6 separate regions of the Homo sapiens genome follow, and regions 1, 2, 3, 4 and 5 are each linked to region 6. Evidence: promoter capture Hi-C in 16 types of primary human blood cells and fetal thymus (Javierre and others, 2016). All regions are on one chromosome and are shown on one strand. The core of a region is centred on a gene start or on the middle of the fragment in contact, and the rest is flanking DNA. Distances in the headings are between cores, read along the strand shown. Region 1 overlaps LOC101927764 (a long non-coding RNA gene). Region 2 overlaps LOC101927764 (a long non-coding RNA gene). Region 3 has its middle 15 kb from the start of TMEM177. Region 4 overlaps TMEM177 (transmembrane protein 177). Region 5 has its middle 46 kb from the start of INHBB. Region 6 holds the start of EPB41L5 (erythrocyte membrane protein band 4.1 like 5).

Region 1 (3,042 bases), core at 219-2,718, 260 kb after region 6:
TAGTTCCTGAATTTTCTACTGAATGTTGACAGGTTAACCCAGCATTTTACTGTGGCCTAATAATTTTCACTGGAAAAACCAACTAAGTTATCTAAATTATATTGTAGGCATTCAGCAAGTTATATACATTTTTATTCTTCAATCTGAATTTCCGGGAACACATTAAAACAAAAATTAAGGTTGTGCTTCACTCTTTTTAGGTTAACTTTCTCAGAATTAAAAGACAAACTGCCCATTATGAGTGAGACAAATGTCTCTTTCATCAAAATCAGTGACTTACAAAGTCTTGCAGTTGCTGGTTCAAGTTTACCACTTCTAGTTTCTAACTACTTTAGGTTCTTCTCCTGTCAATACTAGCACTAAGGATTATCGAAGTCACACAGTTTCGAACCCAACTTTTTTTTTTTTTTGAGACAGAGTCGCACTCTGCTGCCAGGCTGGAGTGCAGTGGCGCGATCTCGGCTCACTGCAAGCTCTGCCTCCCAGGTTCAAGCGATTCTCCTGCCTCAGCCTCCCAAGTAGCTGGGACTACAGGCACCCGCCACCACGCCTGGCTAATTTTTTTGTATTTTTAGTAGAGATGAGGTTTCACCATGTTAGCCAGGATGGTCTCGATCTCCTGACCTCGTGATCTGCACATCTTGGCCTCCCAAAGTGCTGGGATTACAGGCGTGAGCCACCGCGTCTGGCCTAGAACCCAACTTTCTATCTGAGCATCAGGTTTCAGAGAGAGAGAGAGAGAAAGAGAGACAGAGAGAGAGTTGTAGGTGGAGGGCAGGGCAAGGCTTAAATGTGAGGCTTAAATTTTGTGTGCCTCATTCCTTCTTATTGATGACAATCTGACTATTAGGCCAGTCCAAACAGGTCTATATACCTTCCTGAAATACACACCCAGGTGTCCTCTGGTGTGCAAAAGAAGATACTATAATAATAAGAAAATCACATATAAATGGAATTTTCAATTACAGGAACTTGAAAGTACAGATGAGTCATAAAGATTTAATCCAACAGGAATTTGTAGGCTGTTAAAATCAAATTTAGAATTAAGTGAAGGAATTTGGGAACAGGCAAAAGATATACATAATATTTGACAAATCAATCTCAGAGAACATCAATTTCCTTTATTGCCCCTACTTCTATACTGCTTGTTCTCAGATCCTTGTTAATCCTGGAAGCGCATCAAGGGGGTCAGCCTGTGTCTGTTGTGGGGTGTAGGGTCCAAAGAAATGCTCTTAGTCATTTTGTATTCACAATGATTCATTTCTTGGGAACTGATGAAAACTTATTCTAAAAGCCAAGTTGGGGTTGGGGGGAGAGAGAATAAGTACAAGTGCTCTGGCAGGCTAGAAATAACTTACAGAATCAATAGTTTCCAAGTTTCTGACAGAGCCAGGTTAAGGATGTTGGAATTGCAGCAGTTGTACCTACTTGCTAAAGCTGACACATACATCCTTAGACAAATGCACACTTACATTAAGGATGCTGAGTTGAATTGTCAAGGGTCCTCCATCCCAGGACTTAAAAAAAAGAGTCCTGGGAGAACAATTCTGATGCCCAACAAAAGGGAATAAATAAATTGAGCTATGGTTTAGCCATGCACACATAGAATGGTATTCAAGTATTACAAATAATGCTTATAAGTTTTACTGACATGAAAAAATACTTATGCAATATTAATTTAAAAACTGCAAAATTAGTATATGTAGTATTAGCTCTGCTTAAGAATGGCATGCATAGGGAGGGATGAACAGGTGCAGCACGGGATTTTGAAGGCAGGAAATTATTCTGTATGATACAATAATAGTGGATACACATCCGTATGCATTTGTTAAAACCCATTGAATGTACAACACAGTGAAACCTAATGCCAGCTCAAACTTAATGCATCAATATCAGCTCCTCAGTTGTAACAAACACACCACACTAATGCCTGATGTTAACAACAGGGGAAACCAGGTGAAAGGGGAGGGGAGAGGGAATGTATGGGAACTCTTTGTACTTTCTGCTCAATTTTTCTGCAAACCTAAAAGTGCTCTAGAAAATAAAGTCTAGTAATTTTTTTAAACTGTATTTTTAAAAGACTGAAGGGAAATACAACAAAATGTCAGCCAGAGTGTGCCATCCTATAAGATAGTGATAAGCTCAGATTTCCTGAGATCAAATTCTGTCTCCTCTACTTACTGCTTAGATTAAGTACTTGAACTGTCTGTGTTTCAGTTTCCCTGTCAATTAAAATGGGAATCATGATAGTACTTATCTCATAAATTTCTCCAGGAAATCCACATTATTTTGATAATTATGAAAAACTATATATGCATTGTATTATAAATTATATATATGGAAAGTTATGTGTGTATATAGTTTATATTAGTTGTCTATTGCTGCTTAGCAAGTTCCTTTGGCATAAAACCCCAGTAAACTGTTACCTCACAGCTTCTGTGGGTTGGGAAAGCGAGAGTAGCTTAGCTGGGCGGTTCTGGCTTAAGGTCTGCTGTAAAGTTGTGGCCAGGGCTGCTATCATCTGGAGCTGAAGGCCAGAATGGGGCTGGAGGATCTGTTTTTGAGATGGCTCACCGCATGGCTGGCCAGTTGGAAGGTGAAATTCTCCATAGTGCTGTTTGAGTGTTCTCACAACATGAGGGCTGGCTTCCTGCAGAGAAGGTGATCCCGGAGAGGGCAAGGTGGAAGCCTCCATAAGTTTTTACGCCCTAGCCTTGGAACTCACCATCATGCCTACAATATTCTATTTGTTACACAAGTCAGACATATACATTGTAGGAGAGAATGACATAAGGGTGTAAATACCAGGAGGCAAGGATTAGGACCATCGTGGAGGCTGGCTACCATACATGTACCTATGTGTATATCTGTATAAGTCAATGTGTCTGTATATGCCTGTGTCCATGTGTGTGTGTGTATTTGTCACCCTGCTGAAGCATTATCCCAGTGCACCTGCATGTACATTCTTGTCCTGTGTATTCTATTGAAGCAACCCCCAAAGCTTTTTTGGCTGCCTAGCACTTGGTCTTAGCAGCCTCTTTC
Region 2 (2,934 bases), core at 90-2,589, 280 kb after region 6:
GGGAACAGGTGTCTGGACTCGGTCTCCCAGGGTGAGCGCCGTCTGCTGCCAGTCCTTGCAGAGACTGGACTGTAGCTCTGAGTGCATGATTTGTAGGCCAGGATCCTCCCCTGCCCCTGAGGCTGAGGCCAACATGGGGGGTGGCTGCCTTTAAGGCTGGTCTGGGATTGTCCATGTACTTACTGAGCCAAGGAGGAAGAACCAAAATAGATGCTGGGAGAAAGCAGAGGTCAGAGGCTCAGAGAGGCAAGTCCTGTGTCGGGCTGGAAGGGGATAGTAGAATTGGGGGTGTAGCGGGGGATGGTGTCAATAGCCAGTGGGAATGAGGACTAAGGGAAGAGCCCATCTCACAGGACTCCTGGGCCTAGCAAAGGGTAGGTGATCAATGACTATTTAAGTAATTAATAGTTCAGCAACAAAGGACAGTCTTGTGGGGGTAGGGGCAGCTCCTAAAAAGGGCTGTGGTAGGAAGGGTGGGGCAGGAAGGTCTATGTGGCTGAGCCCCTCTGGGACCCTCAAACTCCAGTGTCAAGTCTTCTGTCCTTTTGAGCCCAAGTGACACCACTGATTTTTTTTTTACTCTATCTTGAGGGAGAAGCAGGCCCCCCACAAAGGACATAAATCTCTACAGATGAGGATACCTCACTGGGCTTTTGTTTGTCAGCCAAAAAGGGAAAAGTAAGCATTTGTCTAATTTTCTCAAATTTTAACCAGCCAACAGGTTAGAGATCTTTTTTTTTCTTTTTGGCTTTTAAAATAACCTTTATTTTTTAAAAGTTAAGATGTGCATTATAGGAAACTGAAAAACGCAAGAAGCAAAGAACAAAGTCATTCACAATCACAGGCAGTTTATAGTTTGACATGCTCTTCTAGGTCCTGTGCGTGTGTAGGCACAACATCCAATTTTATGGCACTGAGATTGTACAGTATGTATCATGATTTTTCACACATCATGAATATTTACCAATTCAAAATCCTAAAGCTATATGAGTATTCTGATAACCAAGAATACACTACACCAACTCAAACTGTTAAAAGAAAATGTAATCCTGCCTTTCTTGGGACAAAAATTTCATGAGATCATGTTTTAAATGGAGAAAGAAAAAGGAGAAAGCCAGAAACTTGAATTCGCTCAATTACTCAGGAAACTTTAACCAAAAAGCTCAGACAAATTAAGGCTGACCTTAATTGATCTGTTTAGATGTTAACCTTTAGAAAAAATCTGTATACATACAAAGAGTATATACATTTGTGGCTTTGAACAAACATTTATGATTCACGGAAGGTGATGACTGCTTTGGCAAAATGGCATGGTTCAGTTTGAAGTCCAGCAGCTCTATTCATCCGTTGTGTGACCTTGGCACTTGGTCCCAGGGTCCCTTCCACCCTTTCTGGGTGAGTGCACAGAGGCGGACCAAAGTGCCAGTTCCAGACCCCATTTCTTGGCTGCTTGGCTCTTGAGGCACCCGACTTTCTGACTTGTCGGGGGCATCCAGGTTTGACGGCTTGGTTGGCCCTCAAGGATGCCTCTTGGCTGACTGGGTTCTGTTTTCTTTAGTTCTCAACTTTCCTTGGTTTCTTAATTTCAATGTTATGTCATCCCTTGGGATCCTGTTGGCCAGGCCCATCCCTGTAGGAGGGTTGACCTCAGCTTTCTTATTTTTCTCCCTTTCTTCCTTTCCTCCTTCACATGTAAGATGAGATGGTTGGACTGGACCAACTCTAGAATCCCTTCCCGCTCTGACTGCTCCATGGTCTGATGAAGGTGGCCACTGAGACATTTGGGCAGGGGCCCCTCTCGAAAACCATGGAGGTAGGCATGTGGTAACTCCCCCTGCTACGTCCATACAGCTATTCTCCTGTGAGAAGAGTTGAGATGGCTTTCTGCACAAAGTGAGAAAGCAAAAGAGCCAGACAGGACCCATGGGGGGAAAAAGGCAGGACAGAAAGCAGATAGCAAAACCAACCTGCCCTCCGAGGGCATGCCCGTCACACGCAGGGCTGCTTGCAAAGTGGGTTTTCGTCCTGTTCTCAGGCTTACAAGCAACTCATTGTCCTCAGAAAATAGCAGCTGCTTCTGGGGAGTATTCGGCATTGGGTGTGACTACTTAGGGGAGCGAGCTTTCAGCAGAAGGCCTGAGCCTTCGTCCGACAGGAAAGGAGGAAGTCATTCTGGGCAGGGGATTCGTTTTCTATTGCTGCTGTAACAAATTACCGCAAATGTAGCGGTTTCAAACAACATAATTTATCATTATACAGTTCTGCAGGTCAGACATGAGCCTCACTTGGACACAAGAATGCATTCTTTTCTGGAGATTCTAGGGGAGAATGCATTTTCTTGTCAGTTGGCAGAATTCAGTTCGACAAGGTTGTGGGACTGAAGTCCCCATTTCCTTGTTGGCTGTCACTGGGGGGGATCCCTTAGCTCCCCCCTGGAGGCCTCTCTCTTATCCTTGTCTATGAACCCTGATATCCCAGAACCAGCAGCAGGGCTCCTCCTCATGCTGCCACCTCTCTACCTTTCCTCAGTTTTCACCTCTCTCTCTCTCTCAGACCATGAGTGGGGAAGGTTCTCTACTTTTTTTTGTTTGTTTTGGAACGGAGTCTTGCTCTGTCGCCCAGGCTGGAGTGCAGTCACGTCATCTGGGCTCACTGCAACCTCCGCCTCCTGGGTTCAAGCAGTTCTCCTGCCTCAGCCTCCCTAGTAGCTGGGACTACAGGCACCCGCCACCACGCCCAGCTAATTTGTGTATTTTAGTAGAGATGGGGTTTCACCATGTTGGCCAGGCTGGTCTACATGACCAGCAAGCAAGCCACCCGCCTTGGCCTCCCAAAGTGCTGGGATTACAGGCATGAGCCACGCGCCTGGCTGGTTCTCTACTTTTAAGGACTCGTGTGATTAGATTGGACCCACCTGAACAACCCCGAGTAGTC
Region 3 (2,727 bases), core at 106-2,605, 350 kb after region 6:
GTGGGGTCAGTGGTGATATTCCCTTTGTAATTTTTTATTGTGTCTATTTGATTCTTCTCTCTTTTCTTCTTTGTTAGTCTAAAGTGGTCTATTTTGTTAATTTAAAAAAAACAGTTACTGGATTCATTTATTTTTTGGAGGGTTTTTCATGTCTCTATCTCCTTCAATTTTTCTCCGATCTTAGTTATTTCTTGTCTTATGCTAGCTTTTGGATTAATTTGTTCTTGCCTCTCTAGCTCTTTTAATTGTGATATTAGGGTGTCAATTTGAGATATTTCAAGCTTTCTGATGTGAGCATTTAGTGCTATAAATTTCCCTCTTCACACTGCTTTAGCTGTGTCCCAGAGAAGCTGGTATGTTGTCTCTTTGTTCTCGTTGGTTTCAAAGAAATTCTTGATATCTGCCTTAATTTCATGATTCACCCAGGAGTCATTCAGGAGCAGGTTGTTCAATCTCCAGGTAATTGTGTGGTTTTGAGTGAGTTTCTTAATCCTGAGTTCTAATTTGATTGCCCTGTGGCCTGAGAGACTGTTTGTTATGATTTCAGTTCTTTCGCATTTGCTGAGGAGGGTTTTACTTCCAGTTATGTGGTCGATTTTAGAATAAGTACCATGTGGCACTGAGAAGAATGTATATTCTGTTGATTTGAGTAGAGAGTTCTGTAGATGTCTACTAGGTCCACTTGATCCAAAGCTGAGTTCAAGTCCTGATTAGCCTTGTTAATTTTCTGTCTCATAGATCTGTCTAGTACTGACAGTGAGATGTTAATGTCTCCCCCTATTATTGCGTGGGAGTCTAAGTCTCTTCACAGGTCTCTAAGAACTTGTTTTATGAATCTGGGTGCTCCTGTATTGGGTGCATATATATTTAGAATAGCTAGCTCTTCTTGTTGAAGAAGAAGGGCACCTCAGCCTGAAGCAGGGGTGAGGACTTCTGGAAGGTGGGGGGTGGGGAGGTTTGGGTGCATAACAGATCCATTGGCACCCCAAGGATGGCCAGCTTGGAGCTTCAGGCAGTGGTGAGCTTGGGAGTAGCCTGTCCCTAGATTCAGCCTCAAATGAGGTCAACTTCCACCACCAGGGACAGTAAGCACAAAAAAAGCACCCCACATTTGGTGGGCCTCTAGCTTTTGAGATATTGACAGCTGGACCTGAGACAGGGCACACACTCTGTGTGTGTATATGTATTTGTGTGTGTGTGTGTGTGTGTGTGTATGTGTAAAGCTTGCACTATTGGTTATGGGGGTGTGTGGGAGGGATAAGCATTCTTTGACTACCTTATATATACACCTCAAAGTGCATTGCTTCCTTGAAAAGTCTTTTCACAGTGGTTTTAACAAACTTCCTGTAAACAGAGTATCAGAAATGAAATACTTTTCTAAGAACACACCACTTTTAGAGAATGGGTCACCAGACCCCTGGGTCCATGCCTTGGCCAAGATCTGATCAGGCTTTTTGGTGGTAAGAAGCAGAGTCACTTAAGCTTTTTCAGGACAGAGGTGGTTTTCAGGTTGGGCCCTGTTCCAGGGGCTGGCTGGGAACGGGGGCAGGAACTCAGCAATGGGTGTGCTTGGGTTCTATCCCAGCTTGCTTCTTGCTATCTCTTGGTGCATCTACTTTTTTCCTCGTGTTTTCCAAACACCAAAAACCCACTTCTTCTTTGCCTACAACTTCAGTCACTCATGGCCCATCGCAGCTGCCCCGCCCAATTTCTCCATTTTATAACTGTCCAGCTTCTGTCCTTGTTGCTAACTTGCTTGGTCTCTCTCTACTTCCTGGTCTAAATTCCTGAAAGAAGGGATAAGGTAAGCTCAGCCTGTCTTGTAATGCCAGACTATCAGTTTCTGGCCTGCCTGGCTTGCTCTGATGGGGCTCATGGTGAGGAGGAAGGGGAGGGGTGCTGTGGCTCTCCCTCACGGTAAGGGGCTGCCCATTTTCTTGGTGCTCCCAGGCCTCCTGCAAGATGTCCTCCAGGAGAGGTAGGTCTCCTTGCCTTCATGTTGAAACACCTCTCTGTGATGCCATCTAGTGAGAGAGAGCAGGAGGCCAGTGGTCTTAATCCAAAAGGGAAGGCTGCATGGTTTGGGCAAAGAGACCTGAGAGGGATGTCTCCATATCTTTGGAAGAGACATGAGTAGCCCTGGGCCAAGTCCATTCCCCTACCTTCAGGGAGTCCATACTCTAATCATCTCCACTCTTTAAACATTTACCGAAACCCATCCTCAAAACCCTGCTGGAAGAGAGAGACTTTGTGTGTGTGTGTGTGTGTGTGTGTGTGTGTGTGTGTTTTGAGAAAGAGTCTAACTCTGTCACCCAGGCTAGAGTGCAGTGGTGTGGCGATAATGGCTCACTGCAGCCTTGACCTCGTGAGTTCAAGCAGTTTTTCTACTTCAGCCTCTTGGGTAGCTGGGACTGCAAGCACGTGCCACCATGCTTGGCTAATTAATTTTTTTGTAGAGACGAAGTCTCACTATGTTGCCCAGGCTGGTCTCAAACTCCTGGGCTCAAGCGATGCTCCTGCCTTAGCCTCCCAAAGTGCTAAGGCACTTCAGACTGTGAGCCACCACGCCTGGCCTAGTGTTCTTTAGTGCAATGCTCCATCTCCTTCACCATCTGGAGAGTTCTCTTTCATGCATAGATCCCAACATAGCTATTGGAGCACAGGAGATGAATGGGTGGAGGGTAGAAAGGATAACTGAAGAAGATGCAGTGGTGAGTGAGGACTCAG
Region 4 (3,082 bases), core at 339-2,838, 330 kb after region 6:
CGGAGCAATGCACGCGCACACACACGCACACACATACACACGGCTGGAGGATGTGTGCGCCAAGGTTGGAGGGTAGCATGTAAGGCTTGTGTGAGGACTGGGAACAGCCTGTGAGTGGAGACAAGGTCTGTGACTTGGAGCAGAGGGAGCTGAGTAAGCAGCCTTTTCTCCCCATCGTGAGGCTGCCTTCGCTAATGGTTCGGGCAGATCAGCAGGAATGCCTGAAACCATCATGGCTCCTGCAGTACTGAGAGCAGATGGGTTGGGGGTGGGAGTGGTGAGAAAGTGGAGCCCATCAAATCCAGGCCCCAGACCGTACTGCTCAGGAATGAGGTGGCCTCACATGGCCTTGTGGCCCTTTAAGTACAGCAGCAGCAGGTGGGTGACACCCCAAGGGGCCCCATGAAATGGTGTGTCCCTGAGTGAAGACTGGTTCACCCAGCCACTGCCTCATCTATCCACCTATGTATTCCAAGCCCGTGCCCAGTGCCGTCCTAGGTACCAGGGCCTGGGGAATGAGCAAGGATGTGCTGCCCTCAGGAACTCAGCCTGTTCAGGTCCAGTGTGAGGACCCGTGAGCTGGCCCAGCACACTGAGCTCCAGCCCACAGTGAGGGGCCCAGCAGGGAGGTGTGCCATTCCCACTGCATTCTGCAGCCCCACTGGCTCACTCTCCTCTCCAGGTCTACTGCCAGGACCTGCCACCACTGTGTTCAAATACTTTCCCAGGGAAAACCTCATCTCCAACTAAAAGATGTCATGAAGCCAAATTGGGTCTGGCTCCCTGATCACAACTCTCCTCACCTTGCCCTGCTGTGGTCCTGTCCAAGGATCTAACCCAGGGGCCCGGCTCCATCCACCACCGGAGGGCTCAAGGGAAATAAGCAGGGCAGGGCTGCAGTCTCCCCTGGGTCCTGAGTGGGACCAGGCCTAACCCACTGCCCACCTCCACCCCTCTGCTCTCCTTGCTGACCCCTACGAGCCAAGCTTACCCCCACCTTGCTGCCTCTCCTCTCCAAGCCCTGGCCACGCTGTGCCTGGGGAGGCTGACAGCTCTGGATGGCGCCAGTGGGCTCCCTCCCTGCAGGGCCTCGGTCTTACAATGGTTTGTTCCTTCCTCTACATTTGAGTGAAGCTCTTGCCAAGTCTCCCATGCCACAGATCTCGGAGTTCTGGAACACCTCCCCTCCCCTCAGGTCCAGGGACTCTCCTGGCACGTGCTGGTCTCCTTCTCCCTGAGTGTGCCATCTGCATCCACGGGACCTTGACTGACACAACACTCTTAAGGCCCCCTCACCTTAAAACAGCCTCTCAGGACCACACTAACTTCTCATCTTGGGCTCTCTAGTCTTTTAACCTCTAACAGAGTGGAGGAAAATTGGGATTTGACCACCACTTAAATTGAGGGGTGGTTCTTCACTGTAGGAAAGTGTTCACATAACTGCTAGTACCCTGGTGTTGAGGTGTGCCCTGACTCCCACAGCCTGGTGGCACTCAAGACCAAGAAGGAGGCTGGGCGAGGTGGCTCACGCCTGTAATTCCAGCACTTTGAGAGCCTGAGGAGGGTGGATCACTTGAGCCCAGGAGTTTGAGGCTGCAGTGAGCTATGGTCACCACTGCAGTCCATCCCGGGCAACAGAGTGAGATGCTCTCAAAAAAAAAAAAAAAACGACCAAGAAGGAGGGATGTCTGTTTATTTACAGTGCACCCTTTGTGCCAGGCCCTTATGTTCATGACCTTACCCAACTCTACAATCTTGCAAGGCGGTTTACATCATCTCCACTTTACAGTTCAAGAAACAAAGGCTCAGATTCATAGCCCCTGAATAGTCCCTCATAGTCCCTGAGTTCATAAGTAGTGGTTATAGTACAATCTAAGCTATTTAATTCCAAAGCCAGTGATTTTTCTGGCCGTGAGCTATAGGTCCAAAGGCTCCAACAGGGCCCTCCAGACTCAATGGCAGGGTGGTGTCTGCACAAGCTGGAAGTGTCCTTGTGATGAGCCCATCAGGAGCGGCCCGGATTGAGCATCCCCCTCCACATCTGCAGCACAGAGTCCCGGCGGGTGGTGTAGGGTAAATGTTTGATTCGGAACAAGTGTCTGGGGACGATGTTCCCGCTGGGTGTATACAGCTTCTCCCCGTCTTTGCCCAAGAGACTGCGCAGGGCCAGGTTGCCCGACAGAAGCTTCTCATAGAACTCCACTCCACCACAGGCATAGGCTGCAGAGAGGGAGGCCGTGCGGCGGTCCAGCCAGGACTCCACGGCATGAGTGAGAGAATCCTGGGAGAAGGCGTAGGCCACAAAGCCTGCCACTGCTGCCACCAAGCTGAAGGCAGCCCGTAAATTCATGGGGCCTGCATGGAGCCCCAGGGTGTACTTGGCACCCACGCCCAGTGCCCAGGTCCCTGCCAGGCAAGCTGGGGCCAGCAGGGCGTGCACGGCAGTGGTACTGCTTTCCAGGTACACCACTTCCCTGGCCAAGGCGAACTTCTGGGCTTCACGGGACAAGGTCAGGGAAGCTCTCAGCCGGGCGCCTGCTGGGCTCCGCCAGTCCACTGTATGCCCATGTATGACCACGGGATGGTTAGTGTTGATCACTAGGTCTCCCAAGAAACTGGCAGGGATGCCCACCACAGCCCCAGCAGGGAGTCTTGGGAAGCCTGCACTCACAGGTTGGAAGGTGAAGGTGGTGAAGGGCTTGTAGCAATGGCCTGAAGGAACACCTATGTCCTGTAGCACCTCTTGGAAGAGGCTCTGCAGCTGTGGAGGGAGCGGAGCTGGCTGGCCCTGAGGCCAGTACTGGTAGAGCCATTGGACCACGGGATCCGGGAAGAGGTGGTACGAGATTGGAACTCCAAACAGGCCTGCACAGGAACCCACCAAGAGGCCTGTCCTGTGTCTCTGCACAAATGCTGCGGTCCGCCACAGGGGACCTGCCATGAGTGTAGTCACTGCGGACAATCTGGGCCAAGAAAAAGAGAAGTCAGCCAGTTTCCCTGGGTCAGCCTGCAGACTGAACATCCTCCAGGGTCCACACCACCTTTTTAAACCAAAGTAACACAGCATAGTGGTGAAGAGTGT
Region 5 (2,867 bases), core at 5-2,504, 290 kb before region 6:
ACTACAGGCGCCCGCCACCACGCCCGGCTAATTTTTTTTTGTATTTTTAGTAGAGACGGGGTTTCACTGTGTTAGCCAGGATGGTCTCGATCGCCTGACCTCATGATCCACCCGCCTCAGCCTCCCAAAGTGCTGGGATTACAGGTGTGAGCCACCGCGCCCAGCCGTAAGCTTGTTTTAACATGTGAAGTTGATGGACACTAACTTTCCCAAGGATTCCGGAACTTGAAAACTGTTTAGGTATCTGGTCCTTCTTCACTGCCACCTGAGAAGGCTTGTGGAGGCTGCACTGCGGAGAAGCAGCTTCACACTCCTGGCAGCTGGGGGCTCCGTTCCTGCTCCCAGGCCGCAGCACCTTCACCAACCTGGGTGGGAGGCCGAATCCTCAGCTTAGCCAGGTTTCTGTGCTTCTCAGACACGACCAGAGGCCCCATTCCGACTTGAGCTACGTGTGTGGCAATGAATCATCCTGACAGTACTGTCAGTGTGACTGAACACGTCTAGCTTGGTGGCACACAACTGAACAAGTAGAAATGAACAGCAAGCTGCGGTGTGTCAGGACAAGCTCTAGCACTTGAATTAGACAAAGGCTGGGGCGGAAGGGTGTTGGAGGAAGTCTCTTTTTTCATTCATATCTACTCAAATAGAGAAGAACAGCCTTAAACCCAAGGGCCCAAATTAGTTTTAAAACTTGTACTACATCCTTTCTAAAAAGTCCTCAAAGCGGGCCTCGTGTAGCAACTTACAAAAGGAAATCAGGAAGTCTGCACTGACAATATGCATTTTAAAAAGCAGCATCACCAAGGAGCAGGTAACTCACCAACTGCAGCTGGCAAGCAGGATCGTCCCAAACCTGAGAACAAAAAATCTACAAAACCGCTAACAGCACAGGTAAATTAACTTAGATTTGTTGACCATATAAAAACAAGAGAACATCCCAAGTCAGCTACATTTCAAAAAAGATAAGACAAAGGATGTACTACTCCACACGGGCAGTTCAGGTTGTTACCTGCACAGGTAATAAACTGATCACCAAGAGGTAAAAGCAAAACATATAAGTGAAATCAACACAGGCTTAGTGAAAACTCACAATTCCCTCACTTGAAAGTTGGTATCAGAAGACAACTGACCAGGCCGGTCATGGTGGCTCACACCTGTAATCCCAGCGCTTTGGGAGGCCAAGGCAGGCAGAACGCTTTAGCCCAGGAGTTCAAGACCAGTCTGGCAACATAGCAAGACCCCATCTCTGCAAAAGCATTTAAAAATTAGCCAGGCATGGTGGCGTGCATCTGTATTCCCAGCTACTGTGGAGACTGAGACGGAAGGATTGCTTGAGCCCAGGAGTTCAAGACTGCAGTGAGTCATGATTGCACTACTGCATTCCACCGTGGGTGGCCAAGCAGGACCCTGTCTCAAAAATTAAATAAAGACAACTGGCCAGACCCAGGTCTGACCCCAAATGCTGAGGTCCATACTCCTGGAGAACAGAGATTGCCATAGGCCCTCAAGTTCAAAATGACCCCTGCATAAAGTCAAATCAATGTGTTCACTCTAATCTTTATTTAACATTGATCTGCAAAAAAAGGAAATTTTAAGTATTTGTGACAATGAAACCAGGGCAAAATGGAAAGCTGAGCCCAAAAGTTAGTCTCCCCTGAAGCCTCTCTTCAAATAATAGTATTTAAAAAACCCAAAGGGCAAAGAGAATGGAAGGGTCACTAGCTGATGTGTGAATCTGACAAATTTACAGAAGCTGAAACCCAGACGTGAGCCGTTCGATAAGGAAGGATCTGTTGAGATGAGGGCAACAGGACCGGCTCAGTCTGAACCGGCAGATGGAGCAGCAGAACCACGGTGCGTGGCTAGAGAGCCTAGGTAGAGGTCTGTGTGGGACACGGTCCACCCCACCCCTGCAGGCAGCTCTGTCCATCACCAGTGCTTTTCTCTTGGAAGAAACTGCCTGGAGTGAACCAAGGCATCCAGCCTGGCCAATGGCCCCCAGAGCACACCTTCCCTCGATTAGGCATTAGGGGTTCCCAGCACTATGACTGGTTTTCTACCCATTCACCCCAAAGTCAAGCCTGCTATTTCACAAGCCCCACTCATGTACATGGAACTCCTGGCCGACTTTCTATTTCCTCCTAAGAATATGGCTGGACAAGCAGGAATCATTAGATACGTGAGAAAAACTGCAGCTTAAAAAATAAAGAAGAAAAAGTGAATAAAAATACAACTTTCAAAAGATCTAATATCCTTCAAAAGTCAAGATATTGAATCCGTAAGGCCGCCAAGAACAGTTGCTATGAAAAAGGAACAAATAAAGACAAAGAAAGCTTTTGTTCACACATACACACGGTGAGCAAGTGAGAAGACAAAGTTGATCCCACTAGTGTAAGCTTCCAAAGGGCAAGGAATTTGTCTGTTTTGCTCACTGCTCTATCTCAAGAACTTACAACAGTGCTTGGCAAAGTGCTTGGAAAAACACAGGGAGGGAGGATAAATTTGAGAGAAAATAAAGATGGAAAATATAGGAAATGGATGGAGCAGACATGAATCTAGGAGGTTCCAAAGGTGGTAACAGGAGCTCTGGAAGGAGAAAACAGAAGCGATCAAAGAATTTCAAAAATACTTTTTCTAGAGCTGAAGAGGCAGGAGTCTTCATTGGAAGCCTCTGCCGACTACCAAGCAGGATGAGTCACAAAACAGCCACACTTAAGATCCACAGCTGTGTTCATTTCAGACCCTGCAGATAAGGAGAAGGCCCCGATAACGGGAGAGAGGGAAAAGCCAGGGCCCCCACTGCAAAGGGACAACCAGGGAGGGCTGCACCAATTTGATCAGTGATGATGCACCCTCCTGAACTCTGA
Region 6 (2,729 bases), core at 116-2,615:
CTTGTTCACTACTTTGGCCCAACAGCTGGCTTAACCCGCATCTCGCCTGACACACTAGAATGACACAGTGGAATTTTTGGATGGTAGGTTTATGTGGCTTCCAAAAAACAGTAGTTTCTACTCTAGTTCCTAACTAGAAGGATTTCCTTTAGAATCATAAAATGCAAATTTAAGCAATCCTATCAGAAGTTGGTTAAAAAAAGTACCCAAAACCCAAAAGTTAGTCATGAAATATGTATACTCTTACATGACTGGTGGCCACAATATGGTTGGTTAATTGCTTTTTGATAAAGCAATATAACATACAGCAAATGCCATTTAAGGTAACACTATATTTTGTCCCAGTATTCCCAATAAAGAAAATGCAAGCGAGTAATTCAACAGCAGTTACGCATATCGTTTTCGAATAATGTTAACCTATTTTCTAAAGCCTGCACAGCATATTACATGCACAAATAATCCAACAAGGTTAACTAGAGCTCAGCAACGGGTTATGTTAGAAACTGAGTTAATGCAGTTGTGGGTTACATTACAAATGTACACGGTTATGGGAATTTTCCCCGTAATTCTTTAAAAACTTTTAATATTAGTCTAAAATATTGCCAAACGTTTTAAGAGTTGGGTCTCGCTCTTAGGTAGAATTCGAGTAACCACAGACACAATTAACATTTACACACCAAAGAACCCATCATTAGCACGACAACCGTCCCGGGTGGGGGCGGGGCGGGACCTTCAGACCTCGTCTTTCATGGGAACACACCTGCCTCTCCTTTCCCAAGAGACTGAAGTTTTTCTCAAATACAGGTTAGCTCGAAAAGTCCACCAAGACAGTGACACAAACTCAGTTCGTTTTTCCCCTTCCCTTGCGACTTTTGTCTCTCCCGCTGGACGGCAGCCCAGCGGACCAGCGAGGGGTACCCGCGGCTCGGGGAGCGCGTCCGCTCGGCAAACATTAACCCGGCTGCCCCGGGCCCTCCGCCCCGGCCCGTCGCGCGGTATCGACCGAAACTCGGCGGCCCTGCCTCATTGGCCGCCGCCGCCCCTCCCTCCGGCGGGATTAATGCCCTGCCGGCCCGACGAGAGAGGGGCCGGCCGCCCTAGGGTCTGGGTGCGGCCCCCGCCCGCCTCCCCGGGGACAAGGCCGCTACCGCAGGCGCGGGCGAGGAAGGGTCCACTCGGCTAGGAGCGCAGCGGACTGTACTGCGGCGCCGCCGCCGGGCCTCGCGCTTACCTGAGCTGGGGACGGCGCAGCCCCGGCGACCAGAGCGGGGAAGAGCCGAGCAAGGCTGAGAAAGGGGCGGCTCCTCGGTAGACGCCGAGAAATGGCGCCCACAACGAGCCCACCGGCTCTAATCCCCGGAGGACCCCGACCTCCCGCCCGTCCACCCCTTAAAGCTCCCTCCCAGCTCCGCCCCCAGGGCGGAGCGCTCCGCTCTTAAACGGGCGATGACACCGCCCCGGAAATTGGCCGGCGCGGCGACTGGAGAGAAACCGGCGAGGCCGGGCCCGGCCGGGCTGGAACTAGCGCCAGCAGCCGGGCGTCCGCGGCTGGTTTAAAGGGGCGCTGCCGAAACCCAGTTCCCGCTGCGGCCCTCCGCCCGCGGAGGAGGCGCCCGTCCGCAGACAGACCCCAGTTAGTCCTATCACGAAGGAGGCTGGTGGAGCTGGCTGCTAGATTCATTCATCCATTCGTTCAAGAGATTAAATCCTTCGCAAATACTTATTGAGAGCCTGTCACGTATTTCCTCCCTTTTTCTCCTTTGTAGGGATTAAAATACATTTAAATCTCTGCTGTTAAAGTGACTTTCACTCTACTGGGGAAACAGTAAACAAATAGGTGTCACAAGGTGATTAAGTGTAAATGAGGAAAAATAAAACTGGGAAAGAGAAATAAAAGATTACTGCTTAGCAGAGTGTGGTCAGGAGGGTACTCTAACAAGGTGACATTCAGTCCGTTCATTCTACAGGTAATTGATTGAAGTGCCTACTTACTGTGAGTTCTGTGTTCTAGACACGAGATACGACAGACAACCAAGACAGACAAAAATCCTTCCCGGAGTTTACGTTATAGCAGGAATATAAACGAGACATAAAATAAACGAGATAAATTAGTGAAATTAAATACTGTCAGACATTGGTAAATGCTAAAAAGAAAAGTACAAGTAGGGAATAACCACAGGCAGTGAGGGTTTGCGATTTTACATAGCAGGTCACAATAAGAAGGTGGCATTTGGCTGGGCGCGGTGGCTCACTCCTGTAATCCCAACACTTTGGGAGGCCGAGGCGGGCGGATCACGAGGTCAGGAGATCGAGACCAGCCTGGCCAACACTGTGAAACTCCGTCTCCACTAAAAATACAAAAATTAGCTGAGCCTGGTGGCGTCCGACTGTAGTCCCAGCTACTCAGGAGGCTGAGGCAGGGGAATCGCTCGAACCCGGGAGGCGGAAGTTGCAGTGAGCCCAGATCACGCCACTGCACTCCAGCCTGGCGACAAAGCCAGACTCAGTCTCAAAAAAAAAAAAAAAGGTAGCATTTGAATGAAGACCTAGAGGAGGTGTGGGAGGAACCCTGTGGCCATCTGGGGAGAACCGAAGGGAACAGCAAGGGCAAAAGGCCCTGCAAGGGGACAGGTCTGTCTTTTCAAGGAAGTCCAGTGTGGCTAGAAGTGAGGAAGCAAGAGGAAGAGGAGGTGACAGTCAGAGAGGAAAGGGGTAAGATGTAGGGCCTT

What was found. The method cuts DNA at HindIII sites, captures the fragments that hold promoters and counts their contacts. A CHiCAGO score of 5 or more calls a contact.
Region 1: a fragment that was not itself captured here is called in contact with the fragment with the promoter of EPB41L5 in region 6 in 10 of 17 cell types (total CD4 T cells, naive CD4 T cells, total CD8 T cells and 7 more); the score reaches 11.3 in total CD4 T cells.
Region 2: a contact is called between a fragment that was not itself captured here and the fragment with the promoter of EPB41L5 in region 6, in 3 of 17 cell types (total B cells, naive CD8 T cells and non-activated CD4 T cells). The highest score is 7.3, in total B cells.
Region 3: a contact is called between a fragment that was not itself captured here and the fragment with the promoter of EPB41L5 in region 6, in 2 of 17 cell types (total CD4 T cells and fetal thymus). The highest score is 6.5, in total CD4 T cells.
Region 4: a fragment that was not itself captured here is called in contact with the fragment with the promoter of EPB41L5 in region 6 in 3 of 17 cell types (total CD8 T cells, total CD4 T cells and non-activated CD4 T cells); the score reaches 5.9 in total CD8 T cells.
Region 5: a contact is called between a fragment that was not itself captured here and the fragment with the promoter of EPB41L5 in region 6, in 3 of 17 cell types (total B cells, non-activated CD4 T cells and naive CD4 T cells). The highest score is 6.1, in total B cells.

The regions. Positions count from the first base shown.
Region 1 is chr2:119,747,769-119,750,810 of GRCh38, reverse strand. All of the region lies in intron 1 of LOC101927764 (a long non-coding RNA gene), which reads left to right. Among named protein-coding and RNA genes, the nearest start is that of PTPN4, 11 kb to the left of the region's middle. The HindIII fragment of the contact is 3,071 bases long and covers 1-3,003 here.
Region 2 is chr2:119,731,369-119,734,302 of GRCh38, reverse strand. All of the region lies in intron 1 of LOC101927764 (a long non-coding RNA gene), which reads left to right. Among named protein-coding and RNA genes, the nearest start is that of PTPN4, 27 kb to the left of the region's middle. The HindIII fragment of the contact is 5,353 bases long and covers 1-2,934 here.
Region 3 is chr2:119,662,608-119,665,334 of GRCh38, reverse strand. No RefSeq gene overlaps it. Among named protein-coding and RNA genes, the nearest start is that of TMEM177, 15 kb to the left of the region's middle. The HindIII fragment of the contact is 259 bases long and covers 1,226-1,484 here.
Region 4 is chr2:119,680,713-119,683,794 of GRCh38, reverse strand. TMEM177 (transmembrane protein 177) reads right to left here. Exons shown (of 2, transcript NM_030577.3): 2 at 1,677-2,963. The coding sequence starts at 2,941. The coding sequence ends at 2,006. Among named protein-coding and RNA genes, the nearest start is that of TMEM177, 3.1 kb to the right of the region's middle. The HindIII fragment of the contact is 1,199 bases long and covers 989-2,187 here.
Region 5 is chr2:120,298,203-120,301,069 of GRCh38, reverse strand. No RefSeq gene overlaps it. Among named protein-coding and RNA genes, the nearest start is that of INHBB, 46 kb to the left of the region's middle. The HindIII fragment of the contact is 2,162 bases long and covers 174-2,335 here.
Region 6 is chr2:120,011,713-120,014,441 of GRCh38, reverse strand. It overlaps EPB41L5 (erythrocyte membrane protein band 4.1 like 5), which reads right to left and starts at 1,365. Exons shown (of 25, transcript NM_020909.4): 1 at 1,232-1,365. LOC107985817 (a long non-coding RNA gene) reads right to left here. Exons shown (of 4, transcript XR_001739205.2): 4 at 1,738-2,049. RefSeq lists a silencer at 1,020-1,189. The HindIII fragment of the contact is 11,072 bases long and covers 1-2,729 here.